Regions from separate parts of the Homo sapiens genome. Here all the other regions are linked to region 7. The links are contacts of gene promoters, found by promoter capture Hi-C in blood cells and fetal thymus (Javierre and others, 2016). All regions are on one chromosome and are shown on one strand. The core of a region is centred on a gene start or on the middle of the fragment in contact, and the rest is flanking DNA. Distances in the headings are between cores, read along the strand shown.

Region 1 (2,700 bases), core at 11-2,510, 610 kb before region 7:
ACCATCCCGGCTAACATGGTGAAACCCCGTCTCTACTGAAAATACAAAAAAATTAGCCAGGCGTGGCAGCATGCGCCTATAGTCCCAGCTGCTGGGGAGGCTGAGGCAGGAGAATGGCATGAACCCAGAGCCAAGATGACGCCACTGCACTCCAGCCTGGGTGACAGAGCAAGACTCCCTCTCAAAAAAAAAAAAAAAAAAAAAAATGGTTGGCATGTTCCTTTCTTGAATGGCATATATTAAACATATAACTTCCCTGAATTTTCTCACCTAACACCTCAAAAAACCCACATGCCTCTTTTCTTAATCAACATGTGACTAAATGTCATCCAGTGCATCTGATCATAATACTTTGCCCTTACCAGTCTCATTACCTTGTGCCAGAAATGACAGAAGTAATACTCAGGCTTTCCATCTCTAACGGTGCCAAGTTCATGTATAGACTCTATCAACATTTGGTTTTATCTCATCTGTCTATTTCTGTGCTTGATTTGATTCTGACTAGAGCCACACAAATGCAAGAACTTATGTTAATCTATATCTATGCCTGCCATAGTCACCTGAGACTCTATTTTGTACTCTGTAACTATGGGTAGGATTTTAAAACCTCACTGGTATTTAAAAGAAAAAGAAAAGCTTATGTATTAGATGCTGTTTTAAAAGTGATTATCTCTTTCTCAGAAGCTCCTTAATTTTCAAAATGACTTTTTAGCTATATTCACTCAATGTGAATTTTAAACACAGACTTCAGAAAAATATTTACTCAGATCTCTTATTTCCTTTCACAAGTTTTGAGTTCTCTTTCTGATAGTAGGGTTCTCCCTATAAATTCAACCTAAATCTAAAATCTAACTGTGCATATATACTGAAATGTACTTACATGCTTATGTAACACAAGGGAATGAACCTATATCCAAAATTTGTTTGAATGTTGAGAATGATACACCAAGAGAGTATGAAAATGTTTATTAGCCAGGCGTGGTGTATTATTGCCACGCTGCTAATTAAGACATACCCGAGACTGGGCAATTTACAAAAGAAAGGTTTAATGGACTAACAGTTACACATGGCTGGGGAGGCCTCACAATCATGGGGGAAGGCAAGGAGGAACAAGTCACATCTTATGTGAATGGTGGCAGGCAAAGAGAGAGAGCTTGTGCAGGAAACACCCCCTTATACAACTATCAGATCTCGTGAGACTTATTCACTATCATGAGAACAGCAAGGGAAAGACCAGCCCCCGTGATTCAATTACCTTTCACCGGCTCCCTCCCACAACATGTGGGAATTCAAGATGAGATTGGCATGGGGATACAGCCAAACCATATCATGTGGTGTCTCACACCTGTGAACCCAGCACTTTGGGAGGCCAAGGCAGGTGGATCACTTGAGGCCAGGAGTTTGAGACCAGCCAGGCCAATATGGCAAAACCCCATCTCTACTAAAAATACAAAAATTAGCCGAGGATGGTGGTGTACTCCTGTAGTCCCAGCTACTCAGGTGGCTGAGGCATGAGAATCGCTTGAACTGGGAGGCGGAGGTTGCAGTGAGCTGAGATCGCACCACTGCACTCCAGCCTTGGGTGACAGAGGGAGACTGTCTCAAAAAAAAAAATAATTAATTAATTAATTAAAAGAAAAGGTTTACTACTCAAATAATGAGGCTTTTTGAGGAAGATAGATTCCAAGCAAATCCAAAAGTAGTTTGACAGAGGAGGGAAAAAAGACTAGCATGGGGTTTTTATGTAATCAGAGAGGAAGACTGAGGTGAGGATTCCTGTATGCGGCTTGAACTTCCTGCAGGTGCCAAAGGAGAAAGTATTAGGCTTTCTAATCAGGTTGCCCACATATGGGAAAAAAGAGGAAAAGGAAGAGGAGAAGCTTAAAAGTTGTTAGCAGACAAACATTAAGAAATGGAGTCATAACCTTATTGTAATACTATACTTGCACAAACATAGTAAACATTGGAATATACCTACCCACACATGCTGCCTCCTATACTGTGTAGACCCATTAGATTTCTATGTATTGCAGGGACCTAGGTTCCTGTGATCGCCCTAGGTTCATAATTCCTGCTCTCTTGTGATTCTCACTTGAACCTCCTCTCCCAAGACCGTTTGTGTCTTTGCACTTGATTTGATCAAAATGCAGAATTCTCTCCTTCTTCATGGCTGAAACAACGACTGGAACATAAATGTCCTACTTACACAAGACATTTGCATTTGCAGCATACTATTCTAAAATAGATAATTCAGAGAAATAGAGCAATAAGGAGATTATTACTTCTATTGATAAAAATGTGCCATGCCTCCTAGTAGGCAGAAGTTACTACATACATTTGCACTTTAAATAACAAGTAATTTTTTTCCTCTATGACATGAACAAAATCATTTGTCTCCCTTTGATTACATGAGATTATAAATATAAATAATTTAGTAAGCACACACACAAAGAAGTACCTGCAGACAAATGCTGACACATGGTTTGCTGATCTTGTTGGCTTCCTTACTGCCAAATGATGTAACTTCACACGATCTTGACTCAGGAGACTCAGAAATGCTGTTAGTCCCCCTGAAAAGTGAACTGAAGATCATAAAAGATTTCTGTCAATTAAATTTTATCATTCATATAAAACTCATAAAGTGGAGTTCTCACAGAAAGTATTCAGATTTTTTTCTTTTCCTCTAGGCTTTTTTCACTC
Region 2 (2,700 bases), core at 107-2,606, 670 kb after region 7:
CCTTAAGATGACTTTCCTCTACAAACATTACAATAGGTGATTTCAAGAAGATTCCACTGTGATTCCCATAGAAAATCTAATAAGCTTTTATTTTGTTTTTGTTTTGTTTTGTTTTTGAGGAGTCTCGCTTTTTCACCCAGGCTGGAGTGCAGTGGTGCGATCTCAGCTCACTTCAACCTCCACATCCCGGGTTCAAACAATTCTCCTGCCTCAGCCTCCCGAGTAGCTGGGATTACAGGTGCCCGCCACCGCGTTGGCTAATTTTTGTATTTTTAGTAGAGACAGGATTTCACCATGTTGGCCAGGCTGGTCTCGAACTCTTGACCTCAAGTGATCCACCCGCCTCAGCCTCCCAAAGTGCTGGGATTACAGGCGTGAGCCACTGTGCCCAGCCAGTTTATTTATTTTCTAAGCAATGGGCACTCTATCCAAACTACAGAGACAGTTAAAATCTTGTATTGTTGTTGCTGCACTACTTCTGAGTATCTCACATTTTCACTGGTAAGTAACTGTCTGGTAAAATATTTATTAAGCACTTAGTTCTCAAACTTGTGACACAGAACACAGGATGTTATTATACAATATTTTAACCTCTAATTTACATAAGCAAAAATTTTAAATAAACAGATTTGTTTCTCACTGCAATTTAGACAAAAGTTCACAAACACAAATGTGAGAAATGTGAGATGCTCCATGATTCTTGAGAATTACTGAATGATTATTCATTTCAGATAAATTATTCATGTACGGTATATATCGTCAGTTCTAGCTACAGAGAAAATTAATCAAAATAAATTACTCTAATTCTTCTCTTTACCATATACGTCTCATTGATACAACAGACTTATTTTATAGTTGTGCAAGCAATGGAGCACTTAAAGAAACACATTATGTTACCATTATTATGTAATATTTGAAATAGAAGTGCGTAAGCCAAAATCCTAGGGCCTTAGAAAGTAACAATAAGCAAAGATGTGACACTATATCAATGCACACGAATACTAGTTTTTCACATAAAGAAGAAAAGTATGTTCAAAATTCCAAGGTACAAATGGTAACTATCCAAATTCATGGTCGCCAAGGACATCGGTAAAGCCTGGAGTAGCTTTCAGATGTGAGGAGCTTCCTTAAAGCTCTGGAATAAGCAGGATTCAGGAATAGTAAGGATAAATGCAGAGCGCTTAGAAGATGACCAATAAGAACAGATCTTAGTCCTGCCTGAACATGCTGTGAAAGCTTGAGGAACACACCAGTGCCAGCCCTCAATCTCCTCAACTGACTTGGGGATTAGACTACAGGCTATCGATAAAGTTTCCATCCATCCTTAAAATCCTATGACTCCAAAATTTCTATCACATGCAAAAGTATAAAGGCAGGAAGGAACTGTACACAGAATAATAGAGACCCCACCAATCCCAATCTTAATCTGGGATGTAAGTAGAGATGGTAGAGAGAAACTAGGTTATGGAAGCTTTGAGAGCAAAGTTGGTTTAAACTTATTGGATGGGCCTAGGTTTTGTTTTTAAATGTGCGTGTGAGAGAGAGAGAGAGAGAGAGAGTGTGTGCACGTGGTTGTATGCATAGAACAGCAAAATATACGAAAAGCCTAAACTTATATTCTTAGTATTTTGGTAAAAAGTTAAAAATAGTTTATTTCAGCTTTATTACATAAAAATTGTTTAGAACATAGTTCCTGCCCACACAGTAAGCCCTTAGTAAAGACTGGCAGATATAATAATAATCATTATCATTTCTATCATCATCTTACTATTGTTACTGAGGCAGTGTTTTGGAGTGGTTTTGAATGTGATTCTGAGATCAGACTGACTGAGCTGGAATCCTGGCTTTATATCTTACCAGCTACACAACCTTGGGTAAGTAACCCCATTATGCCTCAATTTCCTCATCTGTAAAGCAGGGACAATAACAACACCTAGCTTATGGAAATGATAAGAAGTTAAATAAGTACATGTAAAGTATTTGGCATAGTGCCAGATACAAACCAACTGCTTAATTATTTTCATCGAGTTTGGTAAAGAATGACATTATTCATGGACTCTAACGTGCTAACTCAGGTAGGGAAAGAGAAAGGGCATGTAGCCTTTAAGCAGCACTTGAATTTAGAAAGCTTTGTGTACATCTGCCTTATTCATCTGTTTGCATACATTGTTTCATTACAAATGCACACAAAGGATCATTAATTAATTGGGGAAATTAAAATTTAGAAAGATGTCAGAAGTTTTATTCTCTTATTAAAAGGCACTTACAGAGTAGCTGATCTGGCCTTCAATGTTGGTCACTATAACTTATATTTGCTTCTTTTAAAAAGGTTGTATTATAATATAAAATGTTTCCTTGCTAAAATACAAAAATAATCTTCAGGTCTTTAAAACAAAAGAACACTGTTTAATGTGCAAAAGGGGGACCCACACCAACAGGCAGCACCAGAAAGATTACTAATGTACCCTTAGCTCTAAGCATGTGAGTTTGAATAGACCAGGTCAAAGGGAGCCCTATCAGTTTAACTTGAGCTTACAAACCCGCTCAATGTTCCAGATTTGGGAGGGACATGACAAGACTTCATTGTCATTATCAGTGGTGATCACAGTAGTTCTAAGGGTATGTCTTATGCTTCTGGGCTTTTAACTGCTTCAAAACCCACAATGAAAGAAAAAAAAAGCGACTCAAGTGTTGAAGTCA
Region 3 (2,700 bases), core at 52-2,551, 690 kb after region 7:
TTTTTACATCCTCCCTTTTTTCCTCAAGAGCAAAAGAATAACATAATGAGGGTAAGAGAAAATGATCTTCCCCAAAACAGTATTTTTACATTACGGCATTCAACAAGCAGAAAGAAAATGGAACCTACCTCTGCCTCAATTTCTGCTTGCCTCTTCTCCAGGAGTTTTGCCACAGCCATGGCCCTGTGCTTGCCAGACCGTTTGCAGCTCACGGCCCATTCACATAACAGCGTCACCACAGCTTCATCGTTGGGCGCAACCTAATGACCAACAGAGAGGGGTACCAGCCACATCAAATGAAACATTCACCCAGCAAGAGGCAGGAAGCAAGCAAGGGAATATCTAACACTTTAAAGCTTTTTTCCATGTTTTATTATAGTAGCTTTAGAAAGCGCTTCCAAAACATTTTTAATTGAAATACAAAAAATAAACCTATACAAGGAAAGAAATCACTTATGCTGAATCTGTGACAATTCCAAAAGAATTAGAGCTTCCCTGTGGATGCCTTCACTTACACAGGGACATAACCTAGCCCCAGCTACCCTCTAGAACTCAAATTTCAAAACCAAATAGTAAGGGAAAAAAACAACCACTGACTGTCAAGAACAGCTGTCACAAAGTCAAAGTACATCACTCTACTGTTGGCACCCTCAGGCCCCCCACTCACTCAATGCCTCATACAATAAATAATTCTGACAAGCCAGGTTATCCAGTGACCCACTCCAATACAAAATTAGAAGGAACAAACCAGAGGGGAGGCTGGAACGCTGGTAAAACACCCGTCCCAATGGAAATAACAAACACGAAAAATGACAGCCCAGCACCAAAACGAACCAACAATTAAGGGCAGACACAGTCAACCAAGGACAGCAGCCGGGTCTAGGTAGGGCTCAGCATGGTGACCAGAACTGTCAGCCACAGTTGTCATGGCCTAGAAATAGGCACCAGCGACTGAGGATGAGAGGATGTTGGGGACCCAAATGACATGAGTCGCGGATAGGGGTGCAGCGAGTGGTGAGCGGGGAGATGGTACTTCCGTGTGATCTGTCCTTTCCTTTTAGAGGGTCCACGCCAACCAATAGGACATCAACTACAAGTTTTTAATATGTCCCCATGGGGATAAACATGATGCCAGAAAAACTAGATAATCGCAGCATTAGCACTACAGGCTATGAAGGAAGTTAATACTGTAGAATCCATAAACTCAATTAAGATTACGATATGGCTATGAGCACACGCCATGGAAGAACATACATACATACATGCATGAACTTAGCACATTTCGGAATGTCTGTGCAGTCTGAAAAGCCATCCAAGAATCCCAGAATAAGTATCCCTGATCAGCTGTAGATGCTAGCAAACAATTCAGATCATGAAAATCAGTTTATTCCAAGATTTTTATTCATCATACCCTAAATTTTGTCATTTAAACACATGGTTACTCAAACCAAAGAAATGAGTTACCTGAGGCAGATACCTCAAAGGGAGCTCTGTTTTCCTAATTTAAAACAAGAGAAGTAACTCAATTGAAAGAAATGTTTGAACATAACATTTAAAACAGAAAGTAAACTGGGAGGACTTTCTGCCCAGATTCACTCTAACCTATATGAACATAAAAATATAAAAGTCAATCCAGTGAAGGACCACATGCTTATAGGTTTAGAATATTAAAGATAACAAAAAGAGTTACCCTAAAAATACTGCTTTCAGTTTTTATTAATCTAAGCAGTAATATGCTTCATATCCACATTTACACAGATTTTTTTTTCTCCTGCATCTTCAGGATTACACTAAAATGTGCTACAAGAAACAGGTGATTTTAAAATTTAAAAACTTCTTTTCCCACTGAAGATTTTATGTGAGATTTAATATCTATGTGAAATTAGGGAGACATATAGAAGAACTGTATGTGATCAGTAATGTCTCAACACCTACGTGGGAGAACAGATTTCTTCAGATCTACTGAATAAACTACAACAAAAGAGAAGTCAAAACAAATCACATTACCACATCCCTTTTATAAACCAAAACAACAGCTAGTGTGCCCACATCATCTCTGAGAAAACAAACACAAACTCATCACACACGACACTCTGAAGATCAGCAAACCAAGCACGGTGTACACACAGCACACACGATTCTGAAAAGGCAGGAGAAAGACAAATCTCATCTGGGCACCCATAATGTGCATGAGCGTTCAGTGCTGCTAGGGATAGGAAGGCACATTTTCTTGCTTAAGAAGCTTACACTCAAGAGATAAGAAGGAAACAGCAAACACAGAGCAGAATAAGAGGCTCTATACACTGCACATCCACAGGGACAATCCAGGGAAGGTTTTACGAGAGGCATGGTCTTGAACCTTCATATAGTCACACTGTTAACTAGGGTTTTATCCAGAGAGAGGACTACAGGAGATTTTTATTTTCTGCTTTTATCATGCAAAAGAAAAACACTGTTTGTTTTGGGGAAAAAAATGTAAATTGGGCCTTGGAGGAAAAATATCAGATTTCTGATAAATAGAAAAAAAATGTAAAGGACAGAAAAGACCTATCTAAACATAGTGGAAATCATATGCTCTCCTGAAGCCTTGGGGTATAACATCCACTTACACAACTATGTGCTAGGCACTGTGTTCTGCCCTATTTATACATATGATCTCATTTTACCCTTACAGAAACCTGGAAGTAGTTATCCCAACTG
Region 4 (2,700 bases), core at 81-2,580, 710 kb after region 7:
CCAGTAATGGGATGGCTGGGTCAAATGGTATTTCTAGTTCTAGATCCCAAGACAGGGATCTTATTCTAAATATTAATCACAATCCTATGGTTCAAGTCACATAAGGCTTTGAAACAAATAACCCAGTACCAATAAGAACATATAATAATTACCAAATATCAAAACTACTACAGGAGTCATGGTCATGTATTAGAACCACCACCATAATTACAGTCTGGGTGGCAGAACTCTCAGCAAGAACTGTTCAGCAAGACAGTGAAAAGAAAGGGAGCAACTTCGAGAATTTCAGTGGTTCTGAAGAGGCTAAACAATTCTCTAAGGTCACCCAGAGTGTTAGCAGGCAAAACTGGGATAGCACCCAAGCATCTAGATACTAAAACCTGTGCTTGACCCACTGTGCCCTGATGCCTGTCAAGAATGAAAACAGCCATCAAATCACTGAAACATAAAGTCTACCTGCTGATTGAAAGCCGTGTTCCCACCCGGCATGGGGAGGCTGGACGGGGCCACCTGCAGCAGATCCAGGGGTGAGCCTGGGTTTGCGCTCTTATTTTCATTTGTGGAATAATTCCACACCAAGGCACTTGGGCAACAGAGAGTGACAGTCTGGAAATGAAACAGATAAAGTTGGATGTTCAGAGGAAGGAGAAAAGCATAACAATAGCTAAACAGTAAAAACGACACCCTGTCATCACTGTATTATTGTCTCCTACTAGTAAGTTTAAAATACGAGAGTGTCTTACCCCATTCTCAACTTCGCAATTGAGAAGACAAAACTAAAAATTATTAAGTTGAAAGGGAGGAAGTACAGCTGTTGAGAAATTAAGGAATAATTCATAAGCTAATACTCCAACAGGAACCTGAAGGAACTTAATAAAAATGCAGTAATCATCACTTAAAAATCGTCACTTAAACCAATTTTTCATGCAATTAAAAACATGAGATGAACTTATAATATGTAATTTCTAAGGCTGTAAAAGCTAAAAAAAAAGAAGTATTTAAAAACAAAAACAAAATCAAATAATCATGTAATAGTAGCTTCATAAATGGTGGGCAGGCAGTAACCCTGGACAAGGGGTTGTCAAACTTTTTCTATAAGAAGCCTGATAGTAAATGTTTTAAGCTTTGCAGGCTACCTACAGTTTTTGTCACACATTCTTCATTTTTGTTTTAATAATGCATTAAAAACATAAAACCTATTTTTACCTTGTGGGCCGAATTTGATCCACAGCCTGTAGATCTCCCTCGCCCTAGACACTTGCAGACACTCTTCACTCAACCAGAAGTACTTTATATGACCATCTTGCTTATGTGTCACAATAACCCCATGATCTAGGTAGTGTTATCCCCCACCTTTACCAAAGAGGACTATGAGCCGCGTAGATTAGTAACCAACCCAAGTTTGATTTTATTAATAGCACACATGCTCAGAACCACTATGTTATCCTGCCTCCTAAACATAGATTAAACATTATAGCTCACATTTAATTAAGCTAATTACACTTAGTCTACGCTGAACACTATCTTGGAAGCTTTCCGTCATCATAACCTTAACCCTATGAGGCAATGAAGTAAGAACTATCATTACTCCCCAACCAGACACGGGGAAACAGAGGCTCAAGGTCACCGTTACTAAGTGGCAGAGTGAGGTTTAAAATCAGGTCTGTAACAGCTTTAAAGTGTATATCTAAGCCATTATGCTCTTGTGCCATTCAACAGCAAATTTTTTTTCAAAAATATGAAATTAAGTACAAAAAGCTGGCCAGGCACAGTGGCTTGCACATATAATCCCAGCGCTCTGGGAAGCCAAGGCAGAAGGATCACTTGAGCCCAGGAGCTTGAAACCAGCCTAGGCAACACAGTGAAACCCCATCTCTAAGAAAAATTTAAAAATTAGCTGGGTGTGGTGATGCACATCTGTAGTCCTAGCTACTAAGGAGGCTGAGGGGGGAGGATCACTTACTTGAGGCAGGAGGATCACTTGAGCCCAGGAGCTCCAGGCCGCAGTGACTGAAGATTAGGCCACACTGCCCTCCAGCATGGGCAACAGAGCAAAACCCTGTCTCAATCAATTCATCAATCAATTTAAAAAAAATAAAAATAAAAAAAATAAACTCTGAGGTCTAGGAGACATCTTTGTGGAAACCAGATAGCAGATACAAAGAATGTCAAGTCCCTGAAACCTACCAATCCATCTCTTTCCACTGGGCTACATCCCTACTGCCTTCCTCATGACTGTAACAATGTGGAGTTCTCAACTCCTCCTGACAGAGCCCTTCCTTGTGTCCTTGATTCCAAAGCCCTCTAATACCCAGGGCACTGATCTATCAAACACTGCTCCTTCTCCTATTTGCTCTTAGCCCAAAAATACATTCAAATCTGCCCATCAAAATATATATATATTTTTAACTCTCCACTCAGCTGCCATCTTTATCCATTATCCATTCTCTTCTCTTCTCTTCATAAACACGTTTCTCAAAACAACAATTAGTGCTATTTCTCCTTATTCTCCATCACTCCTCGACATTCCTTAATTTGGCTCCTTATCCACCATTCAATTAAATAGCTCTTTAAAAGATCACCAATGAACACTATATTGTTAAAGACTACTTCAGCCATCTTCTTGCCAGATGTCTCCAATACTCTACACATTGCCCACTACTAATTCCTTTTTGAAACTTTCTGCAGACCCCAGTTTAG
Region 5 (2,700 bases), core at 167-2,666, 640 kb after region 7:
CTGTCAATAATCATCTGGGTTATTTCCATATTTTTGCTATTACAAACAGTGCTTCTATGAGTGTTCTTGGACATGCTTCCTGGCATGCATCTGCAGGAGTTTTCTAGGGCATACACCTAAAAGTTAAAATGCTCAGCTACAGAGTGAGTGAATGTTCATCTTCACCAAGTATTTCCAATTCCCTTTCCAAAGTGATAGACTTTTTAAATTTCTCTACTCAGCATTATGTTTTAAAGTCCTAAAAGATTACATATAGCATGAACAATTTTTACAAAGGAATGTATGTACACATGGACTAAAATCATTAGTTTTAAAAGGGAGGAAATAAAAAACACACAATTCAGGACAGAGTTACCACAAGGCGGAGAAAGGCGGATGGCAGAGGAGGAACAGGAACGATCCAAGAATGCCTGTGGGACTCTCGCTCTCAAGTCGGTGCTGTGTTTTTGTTTTTGTTTTTTTGAGACGGAGTTTCACTCTTGTTGCCCAGGTTGGAGTGCAATGGCACGATCTCGGCTCACCACAACCTCCGCCTCCCGGGTTCAAGTGATTCTCCTGCCTCAGCCTCCCGAGTAGCTGGGATTACAGACACCTGCCACCACGCCCAGCTAATTTTGTATTTTTAGTAGAGACAGGGTTTCTCCATGTTGGTCAGGCTGGTCTCAAACTCCCCACCTCAGGTGACCCGCCAGCCTCGGCCTCCCAAAGTGTTGGGATTACAGGCGGGAGCCATCACGCCCGGCCCAGTGCTATGTTCTTTTTGTTGTGCTTTAACTTATACTACATGTAGTCTTTTCAAAGTATCAAACATTCCATTGAAAAGAAAGACTATATTTAAAAGCAATTAACACTGTCTGTGTTTGGTAAAACACAAAACTCAAAATGAATGGTAGCTATTGCTACAGAATGTGATGAGAATAAGAGATGACAAGACAGCGTAGCTCAAGGTGAGGCATGACTAAACTCAGAGGGCACGAGAGTGCTACCCTGTGGAGGTGAGGCAGCCGGGCTCGTCAACATCCAGAGCTGCAAATGACCCAGATCTGCAGAAACTAGAGATGTTCAGGGGAGGAGGGGAAAGAAATGGGGCTGCTCAGATGCCAGAACAGCAGGCTCTGAGCTCCAAGAGGGCAGGGACAATGTTGGTGTTTTTTTATTGCTTTATCACCAATAGCACATACACTGTCTGGTAATAGCTGTTAGAAGAATATTTGAAAGGTGAAAAGAAAATTTTGTTTTACAGATGATGGTTTTAAACAATATTAAAAAAAATTTAGTTTCAAGGGTACATCTGAAGGTTATATAGGTAAACTCATGCCACAGGGATTTGTTGCAGATTTTTTTGTCAGGTACTAAGTCTAGTACCCAATAGTTATCTTTCTGCTCCTCTCCCTCCTCCCACCCTCCATCCTCAAGTAAGCCTCAGTGTCTACTGTTCCCTTTGTGTCCATGAGTTCTCATGATTTAGCTCCCACTTATAAGTGAGAACATGTGGTATTTGGTTTTCTGTTCCTTTGTTAGTTTACTAAGGATAATGGTTTCCAGCTCCATCCATATTCCCACAAGACATGATCTCATTCTTTTTTTATGGCTGCATAGTATTCCATGGCATATATGTGCCACATTTTCTTTATCCAATCTGTCACTGATGGACATTTAAGTTGATTCCATGTCTTTGCTATTATGAAATAGTGCTGAAATGAACATTCATGTGCATGTGTCTTAATGGTAGGATGATTTCTATTCCTCTGGGTTTATACCCAGTAATGGGATGGCTGGGTCAAATGGTAGTTCTGTTTTCACACCAATCAGAATGGCTATCGTTAAAAAGTCAAAAAATAACAGATGCTGGCAAGGTTGCAGAGAAAAGAGAACACTTCCACACATTGGTGGGAGGGTAAATGAGTTCAACCATTGTGGAAAGCAACACTGTGATTGCTCAAAGAGCTACAAACAATGTTTTAAGTAAAGACTACTTTGGCATAGAGGAGTATATAGAAAGAGAAAAGAAAATGGCCAAGAATAGAACAAGAAACATCAATTTTAAGGATGGGCAGAGGAGACCCCACAGGAAAGTAAGAAGGAAAGGTAAGAAAAATAGCAGAGACACCCAGGAGACTGTTATTAGGCATTCGTTACCTGTCAGGCACGGAGCACAGGACCCTTCCCTCAAAACCAACACACACACGTGTGTGTATACATGTATATGTGCATATAGGCATGCATATATCAGCAAAAAAAGCCCATGAATACACAAGTTTATACAAACATACAAACATAACACTTTGTTTTCTTGTACTGAAGTACTTTCAAAATAAGTTGCAGGTAATCATGACCCTTCCCTTCTAAATACTTCAATAAGCATCTCTAAATACTCTCTCGCTTAACCACACCATCAATATTTCTGGGAAGATTATTACTCAGTAATATTACCTAATCTAGAATCTGTATTCAGAGTTATACAACTGTCTCAAAACAATTTGTATGGCTATTCCCTCCAGCCAACAATCACCACTCATTAACGGTGTTATTTCTCTTTGGCCTGTTTTAATCTACGACTGTCCCCTTCCAGCCCATCATGTTTGTTTCTCGTGGCATTGATTTTTTTAAAGAGTCCAAGGCTGGTTGCTTTATCAAATGTTTCATATTCTAAATTTGTCTGATTGCTCATTGAAGATTTTTGATACAGTTTATTACAAA
Region 6 (2,700 bases), core at 80-2,579, 650 kb before region 7:
ATGTTCTCCACCGAGAAGAGGGTTGTCAGGTGGCTAAAAATCACCCAACTCCTTGGGCTCAGAAGAAATACTTTATAAACTGAACATTCTGTAACAATTTGGCTTCAAATGTAAATCAGTCTTTTGGGAAGAAATTATGGTCTTCTGTGAAGTCTGGTATTTTTGTCTGTTTGATAATTAATCTTATTTGTCCTTGTAAAATAATAAATTTGAATTATCTGGAAGCCAAGCTTTCTCTCAACTGATATTACTGAAGGATTTCATTCACTTATTATTTCAAATGGAATAATGATATGATTTCATAAACCAAGTGCATATTTTATTTTCTTGTTTACGGGATGCACTTCCTAATACTCATGAAATATTTGGCAAACTGTGAAATGTAATGTTTATGTGCAGGTGCTCATCAGATGGTATATAGCCTGAAGACCAAACATTTATGTGAGGCAACAATATTGATCTTATTCTGATATTTCAGTCTGGTTCTGTCATCTTCAAAATATGCCTGACAAAAGAAGTTTTGAAAGTGAATCTGTAATAATTGTCAAATAACAGTGTCCTACAATGTATTAAAACTTTCCACTTTAATTAGTGACCATTTTTGAGATTTCAAGTACATGCAGGTGTTTGAAATGTAGGAACTGGAAAATTATCAGCAAGGTTGAAATAATGATTAGAGCTAACGTTCATTATGTTTTTTTCCATGTGTCAGGTACTGTATAAAGCAGTTTATATGGATTAGCTTATTTAATTTTTAACACAATTTTGTTATTTTGGCCATTAAATAGAAGACAAAACTGAGCCAGTGACAGGCCAAGTAACTTGACCAACTTCATAAAGCTAAAAAATTGTGGGCTAGGAGTTAGACCTAAGCAAACATAGTCAAGCTGTTTAATACAGTATACATGTTAGATATTGCATTGCCTAAATGAATGGCAAATAATGCATAATCATTAACTAAAGAAGGTATCTGCTGGTTAGTGAGAGAATTTGTCTATTTTCTATTAACGAAGTTTCTAAATTTGAAATAACAATTAAGTGAGGTTTAAAACGGTCAGTTTTACTCCTTTCCAGATCTCTAAATTCACTAGCAACTTCCCTCAAACAAATATCATTTTTTTTTGCATATTCCTGCAAGAATAGTCTATTCAAATATAAATAAGTATAATATGTATGTTTTTTACACAAATAAGACATTTAGACACTGCTCTGTATCTTCAGTTTTTTTCACTTAACAATGTACCTGGGAAATGATTCTATATTAACATGATAGATCTAGGTTTGTTTTTAATTAGAAACTTATCAGCTTACCACTATGAAAAATAGTGGAGTTCTCAAAAATAGCAGAACCTTCTTTTTTTCAAGCCTGCAAAATGAAATATAAGAGAGGAGAAAAAGCATTTTATCTCTCACCCATAGACTGGTCTAAAATTTTCATTTTACAGACAGAGAAAATAATACTAGTTAAGCCATGAGACCAAGTTTAAGGATGCTATTTCTCAAATTACTAAATTCTTTTCTAAGGGTTACTATTATAATTTTAGTTTCAAAGAGGACTTTCATTTGTTTTATAAACATTTTCCATTTTCACCCCTCCCTTATGTGTTTAAAAAAGCAAATTCCAATTAGTCACCAGACGACTGAATCACAAAATCTCCTTATCCATTCTGTAACAAATCAAGAAATGCAATGCTATGCTCATCAAACATTCTGAGAATCTTAAAACCACATTATATTAGTTTTTATTCAATAATTGTGGTTATATGTTTGTGTGCTTGTCATTCTACATTCAATAATTTGAATAGCCAAAGCCCTTGAGGGTCAAATTTGGATTTTTCTTGGTTTTACTGGCTCTTTCTCATTGTGGCCTTATGCCTTCTATGCTTTGTAATTTGGATTGTGAATTTACTTAAATGACTAGCTTCATCAGTGGGAATTCAATGAGGTCTCTGATGACTGGGCATCTCTTTAGAGAGTATTTGCTTTGGTTTCTACCAGGTGTTCTGAGTTTCTATCAGTCTAGAACCACATAAAGTCAATTGTCTGGTTTGGGGTTTATCAGACATTACAGATAAGTGAAAGATGAATCCCAACCCCCAAGATTACTTTTAACCCAGAGGCTACACCAAGAGTGATTGATTTCCTTATTATTTCTCTTTGCTGGGGAGCAGATTTTACAAGTCTATTATTCTTTGAGAATGTGGCCTTTTATGGCTCTCAGGTGTATATGGATCCCCTGCTCAAAATCTCCGTTTTTGAGTGTACTAAGACCTCATTTCCTGTCCTATGTGGAGCTGCAAAAAGCCAAGGCATTGGGACATAGAGATTTGAAGATATACTCATCAGAGATGATGTCAGGTGTTATGATAGCCTACTTTGTTTCTCATTCTGTGGGAATGTCCTTCTACATCTTATGAATCAAGCTTTGCATTTGAAAATAAGGTGATCATATTTTACCCAACATACATAAAAAGTTTTAGAGTGGGAGATTTTTCAAAAAGTTAGTTATATAACTTTACTAAAAACAGAAGATCCAAAAAGTCTTTAGGTTGCTTTTTTTTTTTTTTTTTTTTTTTTTTTTTCATGAATCTGCTAACCTCTGGCCATCGGATGAACTTCTGAGAATAGCACTCTAATGCCCCCCTTTCCGATATTATATTGTAAAGTATAGTAAATATTGTGCACTAGACAACAATGGAT
Region 7 (2,700 bases), core at 9-2,508:
TAAAATGTTTACTTTTAAGTGCTACCTTAAGGCAAATTTACATGGTAACATGAGAATTTTTTTTAACAAATTACTTTTTTGATTACTAAATAATTTGAGCAAAAATATATATTCACACTGAAAAGATATAATAATTTAACATTTGTAACTTTATTTTTATGTATTCCATACATTACACCAGAAATTAAGGTATTAAAAAGTAATAGTATGGCACAAATTGTGTATTAACTTCTTTAAGAATACCACACACATTTTGAAAAGTTATGGAAGGTAGAATAGAAATGGTTTCTGCAATTTTTCATTTTTCCTAAGTAAATTAATTATTGGGTAATATCATTTTTACACACATAAATGTTAAATTTAATTTTTAGGATGCCTGAAAATTCCCCCAAATACATTATTTTCTAAACATAAAAATATTATGCCCCAGCACAGTGGCTCATGCCTGGAATCCCAACACTTGGAGAGGCCGAGATGAGTGGATCACCTGAGGTCAGGAGTTTGAGACCAACCTGACCAACATGGTGAAACTCCATCTCTACTAAAAAATCCAAAAAAAATAGCCGGGCGTGGTGGTGGGCGCTTGTAATCCTAGCTACTCTGCAGGCTGAGGCAGGAGAATTGCTTGAACCCCAGAGGCGGAGGTTGCAGTGAGCCAACACATGCTGTAAATGTGTCACTCTGGCACTCAGACACTCTAGCCTGGGTGACAAGAGTGAAACTCTGTCTTAAAAAAAAAAAAAAAAAAAAAAAATATATATATATATATATATATGTATGTATATGTGTGTGTGTGTGTGTGTGTGTGTGTGTGTGTATGTATCAAATACATGATTGTTTCAAATCATTTAGGAACTTTAATTTTTCCCCATAAGTAGTTATATTTATTTAGGTAAATCCAATTACTATTTTGTTGAAATATAAGTTGTTGAGATGTTAGCAAATATAATAAATCCTTTTACATAAAATAAAATTAGTATTTGACAACTAAAAGAAGACAGTTAATTTGTTGAAAAATAAACGTAGAGATAAAAATGACTTTTTTTTTTCAATTATTTTGCTGTTTTACATCTATTTATAAAGAATTAATTTAAACACTTAATACTGAAAACCTTAATTGCTCACAGGTCACCTTTAGAAGGAAATCTGGCCTTACTTTATACACTGAGAGGCACAATTTGCCATGTAGCTTACCATTCTGTTGGAAGACTTGATCCCTTGACAGGAACTCTGCCAGCAGCTGGATATAGCTTCTGACCCAGTGTTGTGCCACTGGACATGGTTATTACAGTGTCCTATTTGCATATCCTATTTGCATATCCTGCAGCCAAGATTAATAATTCAAAAGCCCAGGAATAATTTATTCAGTCAAACCTCCCAGTCAGAGATGTTCATGCAGAGGAATTTTTGTGAGGCTTTTATTTTCACATTCACATTTATTTTATTTTCACATGCAGTTTTGCAATTGAATGACAAAAAACAAGTAACTCATTTCACAGGAAACACATTTACCAAATAGATTTTTAGAAAAACACTGTTGAACTTATTTTATCCACTACCAAAGCAACAGAGAAGCATTCCTTATTTTCATTTTATTTGCATATTTACACAATAAGAAGTGGTAAATACTGCTTATATTGGGAATACAGTTGCCTCTGCTTTTCTTCTTTTTTAAAATTAATTTTCTTAGTGAATTCTGTATTGAGAATATAATAACGAAACCTCTGTTTTCAATAACTTTGAGGGAACTATAAAACTGAAATTTTAAAGGGAAACCTGGATATATGCTATGTTGGTGTACTAGCAAAAAGATACTAGAGCTTCAAGTTATTTTCCATTTTATTTTCTGTGCTTAAAATCAAGAAACACATAAAAGATACATCAGATAGCTAGGGATTAGGGAGAGAGATGCTAAGTAAAATAACCTTAATAGATGGCAATTTATATATCCCAATCAATGCTCTGAAAAACATCTGGAAGTACATTACCACCATTTCAGACAGGAAGCACACCTGGCTTTTTCCAAGCATTATATTAGGTTTAGATTCAAGTAAACACTCAGTCTTCTTGATGTGAAGCATAGGGATTATACTAAGAAAGCCCATAATTGTGCAGGCAGCAGTAATTCAATTTAAATGCTATGTAAGTTGAATATTGAGTTAGCAATGACAGGCAGAAGCCCAAAAAGAAGCTCTGTTACAGGCATCCTCCTAACTAAGCATTTCTCCTCACCAATATCTGACAGCTTAAAAACTCAGGAACTCAAAATATATGTATGTATATATACACATACATATATACATACATATGTGTCTATATTACACACTTTATATACATGTGTAAAATATATTTATACATGTATGAATATTTATGTATACAAACATGTGCATTTACATGAAATAAAAATATCTATAATTTGTTGAGTTCTTGTGATGTGGCAGGCAGGTATTACACTAAGTACCTTTATGCATCAAATGCATATAGTAATCCTCTGAGGTTGTTATTATTTAAGATTTTTCTCATTTTGCAGATTAAAAAGCTAAGGTTCAGAGAGGTCAATTAACTTTCTCAAGATTGCAGAATCAATAACGGGAGGGACCAGAGCTTAAGCCTATGTACTTGGATTCTAAAAGCACCGACTCTGATTCTTGACTGCCTACAGAATTGAATGACAATACCCTTGTGCACAACAAAGTCTAA

The links. The method cuts DNA at HindIII sites, captures the fragments that hold promoters and counts their contacts. A CHiCAGO score of 5 or more calls a contact.
Region 1: a contact is called between a fragment that was not itself captured here and the fragment with the promoter of SUCNR1 in region 7, in 1 of 17 cell types (activated CD4 T cells). The highest score is 5.9, in activated CD4 T cells.
Region 2: a contact is called between a fragment that was not itself captured here and the fragment with the promoter of SUCNR1 in region 7, in 1 of 17 cell types (fetal thymus). The highest score is 5.5, in fetal thymus.
Region 3: a contact is called between a fragment that was not itself captured here and the fragment with the promoter of SUCNR1 in region 7, in 1 of 17 cell types (M2 macrophages). The highest score is 6.0, in M2 macrophages.
Region 4: a fragment that was not itself captured here is called in contact with the fragment with the promoter of SUCNR1 in region 7 in 1 of 17 cell types (monocytes); the score reaches 6.4 in monocytes.
Region 5: a fragment that was not itself captured here is called in contact with the fragment with the promoter of SUCNR1 in region 7 in 2 of 17 cell types (monocytes and M2 macrophages); the score reaches 6.6 in monocytes.
Region 6: a contact is called between a fragment that was not itself captured here and the fragment with the promoter of SUCNR1 in region 7, in 2 of 17 cell types (total CD4 T cells and fetal thymus). The highest score is 5.5, in total CD4 T cells.

The regions. Positions count from the first base shown.
Region 1 is chr3:152,486,358-152,489,057 of GRCh38, reverse strand. No RefSeq gene overlaps it. Among named protein-coding and RNA genes, the nearest start is that of MBNL1-AS1, 220 kb to the right of the region's middle. The HindIII fragment of the contact is 1,244 bases long and covers 639-1,882 here.
Region 2 is chr3:151,200,083-151,202,782 of GRCh38, reverse strand. The region is part of intron 16 of MED12L (mediator complex subunit 12L); the gene reads right to left. It overlaps GPR171 (G protein-coupled receptor 171), which reads left to right. Exons shown (of 3, transcript NM_013308.4): 2 at 1,786-1,874. Among named protein-coding and RNA genes, the nearest start is that of GPR171, 1.8 kb to the left of the region's middle. The HindIII fragment of the contact is 235 bases long and covers 1,239-1,473 here.
Region 3 is chr3:151,182,890-151,185,589 of GRCh38, reverse strand. MED12L (mediator complex subunit 12L) reads right to left here. Exons shown (of 45, transcript NM_001393769.1): 12 at 129-260. Among named protein-coding and RNA genes, the nearest start is that of GPR171, 19 kb to the left of the region's middle. The HindIII fragment of the contact is 1,886 bases long and covers 359-2,244 here.
Region 4 is chr3:151,161,799-151,164,498 of GRCh38, reverse strand. MED12L (mediator complex subunit 12L) reads right to left here. Exons shown (of 45, transcript NM_001393769.1): 9 at 457-606. Among named protein-coding and RNA genes, the nearest start is that of GPR171, 40 kb to the left of the region's middle. The HindIII fragment of the contact is 409 bases long and covers 1,126-1,534 here.
Region 5 is chr3:151,231,496-151,234,195 of GRCh38, reverse strand. The region is part of intron 16 of MED12L (mediator complex subunit 12L); the gene reads right to left. All of the region lies in intron 1 of P2RY14 (purinergic receptor P2Y14), which reads left to right. Among named protein-coding and RNA genes, the nearest start is that of GPR171, 30 kb to the right of the region's middle. The HindIII fragment of the contact is 3,000 bases long and covers 1-2,700 here.
Region 6 is chr3:152,518,835-152,521,534 of GRCh38, reverse strand. No RefSeq gene overlaps it. Among named protein-coding and RNA genes, the nearest start is that of MBNL1-AS1, 250 kb to the right of the region's middle. The HindIII fragment of the contact is 2,193 bases long and covers 233-2,425 here.
Region 7 is chr3:151,872,201-151,874,900 of GRCh38, reverse strand. It overlaps SUCNR1 (succinate receptor 1), which reads right to left and starts at 1,258. Exons shown (of 3, transcript NM_033050.6): 1 at 1,195-1,258. All of the region lies in intron 1 of AADACL2-AS1 (AADACL2 antisense RNA 1), which reads left to right. The HindIII fragment of the contact is 8,098 bases long and covers 1-2,700 here.